2 separate regions of the Homo sapiens genome follow, and region 2 is linked to region 1. Evidence: promoter capture Hi-C in 16 types of primary human blood cells and fetal thymus (Javierre and others, 2016). All regions are on one chromosome and are shown on one strand. The core of a region is centred on a gene start or on the middle of the fragment in contact, and the rest is flanking DNA. Distances in the headings are between cores, read along the strand shown.

The links. Contacts are between HindIII fragments. The CHiCAGO score rates a contact against its expected background, and 5 or more counts as called.
Region 2: a contact is called between a fragment that was not itself captured here and the fragment with the promoter of PAQR5 in region 1, in 1 of 17 cell types (endothelial precursors). The highest score is 5.1, in endothelial precursors.

The regions. Positions count from the first base shown.
Region 1 is chr15:69,297,074-69,300,161 of GRCh38, reverse strand. It overlaps PAQR5 (progestin and adipoQ receptor family member 5), which reads right to left and starts at 1,250. Exons shown (of 9, transcript NM_017705.4): 1 at 1,106-1,250. PAQR5-DT (PAQR5 divergent transcript) reads left to right here and starts at 1,399. Exons shown (of 3, transcript NR_184010.1): 1 at 1,399-1,684. The HindIII fragment of the contact is 4,969 bases long and covers 1-3,088 here.
Region 2 is chr15:69,053,593-69,056,661 of GRCh38, reverse strand. It overlaps SPESP1-NOX5 (SPESP1-NOX5 readthrough), which reads right to left. Exons shown (of 17, transcript NR_033672.2): 16 at 1,162-1,328; 17 at 1-97. NOX5 (NADPH oxidase 5) reads right to left here. Exons shown (of 16, transcript NM_024505.4): 15 at 1,162-1,328; 16 at 1-97. Among named protein-coding and RNA genes, the nearest start is that of EWSAT1, 26 kb to the left of the region's middle. The HindIII fragment of the contact is 4,332 bases long and covers 1-3,069 here.

The DNA.
Region 1 (3,088 bases), core at 1-2,500:
ACCTAGGGGGGTGGGGAGTGGGGTAAAAGAAACAAACCTCTGCTGAGTCAAGGGCACTGCAAGAATGCAGAAGCGACCATGCAGCTCTGGAAGGATGCGGTGGGAAACCCGCCACTCAGTGGTGGAGAAAAGCCCACCAGTTTCTCCAGCAAATGGCTGAGCTTTGTTGGGCCTCCTTGTCTTCTCATCTGCCCATGTGTTAATATCTACTCGCCATTGGTTTGTTAGGTTCAAATGAAATCAGGGATGTGTCCCTTTTTGGCTGCTAGCTCTTCTCAGATCCCCTGACCTCTCCCCATCTCTTCTCTATGGCTCTGCGTGGGAAGGGGCAGTTGTCACCCCCGACTCCCACTAAGCTGAGCCCTCCTCCCAACCTAAGCGGGAGGAAGCCGGTTCTGCTCACGGATAAGAGTTACCGGGCTCCTGAGTTCTTGTTCTGCTGGGCCGGGGTCCACCCCCTCTCCTGGGCTCATCCGACTAGGACTTGGGAAGTGCTAGGGGAGCCAGGAGATGCCCAGCTGGGGGCTGTGGCCGGGGGGAGGCCAATGACAGAGCAGGGGGAACTCCCTGTAGCTGGGCACCCACTTCAACAGGGCCGGGACGACCCCCGCAGGCAGTGGGCCGCCCCTCACCCACACGGTCCTGCTCAGCCCAGGCTCACATCTGGGCTCAGGAGGCGGGAAGCACAGGTGTAAAGAAATCGCCAACTGTGCAGCCCCAATCCAAGGGTTTTATTAAAGTGGGGGCGGCGGGAGGGGGGCGGTGGAGGAAGGATAAGCGGCGCAAACGCCCTGGAGAGTGAGAGAAAAGGTGCGAGAAGGCAACAGCTCCCCTCACCGCCCTCGATTGCAGCAGAGAGCCTTCTGCACGGCGGCGGCCGCCCCACCTTCACACCGGCCCCGCGTGCGGTGAAAGTGGCCGAGCCGCGCCGCCGCCGGATCAGGGCCGCCCCGGCACAAACTTTCCCAGACCCGCCCTCGGAGCGGCCACCCAGGCTCAACGGGCTCCACGGGCGCAGGGCGGCTGGGGCTGCCGCGGAGGGCGGGTGCGCGTGGACCGGGAGGTGGGGAGGCGGCGCGCGGCGGGGAGTCCCGCCCCGGGTTACCTGGGTTCCAAGGGTCTCGGGAGTCCAGTGGACAGGGCGCGGGGACAGCACAGGCAGGCCGGAGACCAGACACTCCTCCCGGGCTGCGGCGACCCCGGACTCGCGGGCCCTGCACCTGGCCCTGCGGGTCGCCGCGCCTACCCATGCCGGTCCCCGCCCGTCCCCTCCCGCGCGGGGCGGGGCGGCCCCGGGGGAGGAGCCGAGGGCCGTGGGCACCACCCCCTGAGCCAGGCCTGCGCCTCATCACGTGCCACCGACCCTGGGCTCTGTGACTTCCAAAGACTCGCCACCCCATTCCACAGCCTGAGGTGCCACCAAAGCCATAAGCCCAGGGGAGTCTCTCACACCCCATTCTCCTAGGGCCCATGTACCCCACGCCCACCTCCACCCCAGGAGCCGAAGGCCGGCAGGGAGCCTGGAGAGCCTCCTTGATGGGAGAACTGCGGAGCTTGCCCCTCGGAAAAGTGCATGGGGTGGAGAACAGGGAAGGAGAAAAAAACAACAACTGGGTACTCGCAGCCCCACCGCGGTGTCCGCTTCGCCGGTGGGAGAGGATCCTCGCCGCCCTGAATCCTTGAAGTGAGTTCCACCCCTGTCTCTTGGAGTGCTCAGGGTGGCGGGCCCTTTGCCAGCCCTCACCCTTTCCCCAGGGATCCTGTCCCAGGTCACAGGCTCCTAGACTGGAAGGCGCTGGGCCTGGACCTCTGCCACTCAGTGGACACAGCTATAAGAGATGAAGGGACACAGAGGACAAAGAAGAAACATTTGGCTTCAGGGAACCAGACTCTGTGTCTCCTCCCAGGTGCTGAAGGAACAGGTTGCAGCTACCTGGTGCCCCCACCCCGACCCTGCCAGAGAAAGGTTGGAACATCCACACCTGTGGACCGAAGTCCCCCACCAGGCTCTTTCCTCCCACCCTTCAGCCCCAGGCTCTCTGAGCTCCTGCTCCTCCCTGCCTTGCCTTGTTTGCTGAGGGCACACACAGTGGAGAGAGCACAGGACTGGGAGTCCAGAGACCTGGGCTCTAGTCTACTCTGTGACTCGGGTCAAGTCTCTGGCCCTTTGTGGGCCCAAGTTGCCCCATTTGCAGTGAATAGGTTGCAGTCAATTATCTCCGGCCATTTTTACGGATCCTGAACCGTGGTCTTGGGCACCTTGCTTTATTAGGCTTTTTGGTGGCTGTGCATCTTGTAAGGGTGTGTATGCATGTGCGTGTGTGTGTGCGTGCGACATGCGCTTGTCCTCTCAGACCCAAGTTCTTAAAGGGAAAGAGACTGGGGCCTACACAGAGGCAGGCATGTATATTCCACAGACCAGAGTTTGACAAGAATGACTGGACACAAGAGTGGAGCCCAGTCCCAGCTCTATGCTGAATTCAGAGTAGCCTTGGACAAGACCCTCACCATCTACAAAATGGAGATTAATAATCCCTGCTTTGCCTTTCCAAGGCTAGTCGGGGGACTCAGTGAGATATTAGATATGAAGCTCTTTGAAGGGGAATAGCACAGGGATGTGTGCTTTTGATGTCTGGGCCAGTGATGGGTTTGGGGGAAGAATAGGGTGTGAAGCATTCTCTGGGAGGCAAAGGCTGGCACTGGACTGATTGGCCACCCTGCCAAAGCTGCAGCATGCACAGCACAGGCAGGCACCCCACCACCAGCAGCCAAGGTGAGCAGAGATGCCTGGTGCCCCACCTGGATTCCTGCCTGCTGTAGGTATCTGTGTGTGCACCTTGAAGAAACTAAAGAGGGAAGATAAAGAGGCTCCCAACCTAAATGGAGGTGGTCAGTGGATTACTGATGAATCGATCTGCATATCTTGGCCAAAATCACCCTCCTCTGCTCTTAGGGAGTTTAAAGTCTAACTGAATGATTGAACATGAACCCTTTGGAGAATGATGTGGAGCCAGGAGAGGGGATTGTGGATGGTGAGCACACAGGATGATCAGAGGAGGGGGAAGGGCAGGGAGGGGCCGGGGAGGGG
Region 2 (3,069 bases), core at 497-2,996, 240 kb after region 1:
TCTCACAATGGCCCTTCAGCACCTTGGCCAGAGCTGGGGAGCCACAGAAGAAGACCTGCACCTTGCCCTTCTTCTCAGCAGCCACTTTCTGGAACACCTGGAGTCAGTGGGGTTGAGGAAGAGAAGAGGGAAGATAGGTGGAGCTGCTGACTCACCAGTGACACAACCACCTGGAGGTAACAGCATAACGGGTCGGCAGCAATGAGCATTCCCATTTTACACAGGGAGCTGCATGGCACAGCTGCTGGGTTTTACAGCAGAGTTCAACACTCAGCCATTCAACTAAGAGCCATTTGTTCAGCTGGCAACATGACCCAGAACCCCAGGTAGAGGACCAGGGCCAGAAATAAATAAGACCCAGGCCCTCCACTCAAGGATCTGCAACTGTGGGAGACAGGCACTAAATCAGACACGCAGAGAGATGCATACAGTGCTCTGGGACTCCCATGGGAGTCTGAACCTGGTGTTAGTCCCCAGGGCTGGCCACCCTGCTGTGATTTAAATATCCTTCCTGATGTCAGTCTTTCCCCCAGTGAGGACCCTTTTCTACCCCAAATTCTGCTTATGAATTGCCTTTTTCTGAAAGTCCTCTTTGATGCCCAAGCACTCACCACAGACATTCCCCTCCCACTCAGCTGTCATGACCCAGGCATGGGGTCATCTGCAGCACTTTTAAAAGCAGCACCTTCTGGGCCACTTCCTGCAAACCGCAAACCCTGACAAGTAAGTGTTCAGGAAAGAAAAATAATAAAACCAATCTGAGAAATAAAATAAAAGGATTGCAAACGATTTCATGTCTCTGTGCCTCAGTTTCCCCATTTGTAACAGGAGATGATAAGATTTGTTGTTTTTCCAGGTCCCTGTCCACTCAGGCCTTTTGACACTGGTCCATAGGGAGTCAAGGCTGCAGGGGTCTTTGAGGTCATAGAGACTAACTTCCTCTCTGAACAGATGGAGAAACTGAGGCTAATGATGGAACAAAGGTTAGTGATAAAGCCAGTGTAGGTGCCCTGTTTACCTTTCACACCACGAGGTCCCTTCTGGACTCTGGACTTAACCTCACACTTTGCCCCTGACAGCTTGGGCCTCGTCTCCCCACCGCTGCCTCGAGCTCTCAGCTTCATCCATACCTGCAAGCTGCAGGGCTCCAGTTGGCATTACCTTGCTCCAGTCAGGCCGCCCAGGCTGGGTGCGCGTCTGCAGCCCCGTGATGGAGTCTTTCTTCTCCTTGTTGGCCAGGAGGTCAAGGGCCATCTGCAGGCCAATGGCCTTCATGTCATTCTTGCCCAGTGCAGATGTCATGTACATATGCAGCTCCAGGAAGCGGCCTGTTGGGCAGGGGACAAGGGCTGCACTGAGGGTCTAGTACCCATCATGGGCGCAGGGCAGGATGCCAACCACTACCTTACCCTGGGGCTTGGAAGGAGACCCATAGGTCTTTTGCCCAGGATCTGTTGTGTAACCAGTGCCATGGAGAGGAAAGGCAGCCCATTGCTTGAGCTGGGCCTACTATGTACATGGCACACATTGGTTACTTTATATGCACTAAGGTGAACCTCACAACCACTCCAAGAGTTAGATCTTTTATATTTATTTATTTAGTATTTTTGTGGAGATAGGATTTCACTATGTTGCTCAGGCTGGTCTTGAACTCAAGCAATCCACCCGCCTCAGCCTCCCAAAGTGCTGGGATTACAGGTGTGAGCCACCATGCCTGGCCAAGACTTTTTGTATTTATAGAAGAAGAAATGCATCCCAGGGAAGTGAGCATGGCAGTCCCTGGGCTCCAAAGCTCATGCCCTTCCATGCCTCACATGTCTGTCCTCAGCCTGGCTGGGGACACAAGCCACACACACATGAAAAGGTAATTTGGACTAAAGGGTCAAGGGTCGAGTGAATGGATCATAGCGTGAAGGCTACTGATATGCAGGGAAGGGCTGATGCAGACAGAGCTGCTTCCCAGAAGGGATGGGGACTGGGTTAGGTCTGGGACAAGGGGTGAGAGTAAAGGCAGAGGTGAAGGGAAGGCATGCTAAGAAGGACTAGTGTGAGTACAGAGTGAGAGGCTAGAACAAACGCGATGTTTGCGGGGCAAGGTGTGGTGCCCGGCTGGAGCCGCATCCTCGGATGGGAGCAAAAGGAAATGGGACTAGAAACAGATTGAGGCCAGAATGAGAAGGGTCTTGAATGCCCAGCTAGGAGACAGGGGAAGGTTGAGAGTAACTGAGTAGGGTGTGACATAATGAAACAGCACTTTAGGAAGGGCATCAGAGAGCTGAAGAGATGGGGAAGGAGACTGGGACGAAGGAGCCCACAAGGCCAGAGCACCCGCAGTTCTGCGCCACAAAGTTATAGGTCTGCTGGGATACTGATGTTTCAGCACTCAGGGGCTCCCAGGTGGGCACCTCCGTGTTCCATAACCAGACATGACATATGAATGTTATCATTTTTATGTATGCCATGGTGAGAAAAAGATTGGTGAGTGCTGCCTTAGGCTTGAGCGTCGGTTCAAGCCAGAGTTGGCAGGGCCTGATCTAGGATGTGGGAAGGAGCATTTCTGAGCTGACTGACGATCACCTCATCCTTCTCCTCTCCCTCTCTTCCTCTACACCCAGACTAAAGGAGCTTTGCCATTCCAACCTGCTCTCTATTGTTTCCTAAGTCACCATCAGCTCATTTTTCATTTGGCCTAAGGTCTCAGCTGCTGTTACAATGCAAATGGCCCTAGGAGGGCTAGCACATTTCATGTCACATGTCACTTAACCCCTAGTCGTGCTGGATGGTGTGGGAGGGAGGGAGATGTATTATGAGATGCCCACCTGGGGGACCCCCTGCTTCTTACCCTCCCTCAGAGTCACCATACCCCAGAGAGGGGTAAGAGGAGAGAAGGGGAGACACCATGGTGGGAGGGAGAAGATAAAGGGGCTGTGGAGGATGACCTGGCATGGTTCTCACTCTCTCCATCCAGCTGTGTTTGAGATAGCCATCTCATTTCTGGGACACTTTCCTAAGAAAATCATCCAAAGCAAGGAAAAAAACTATGTGCACAAATATATTAATTTTGGCATT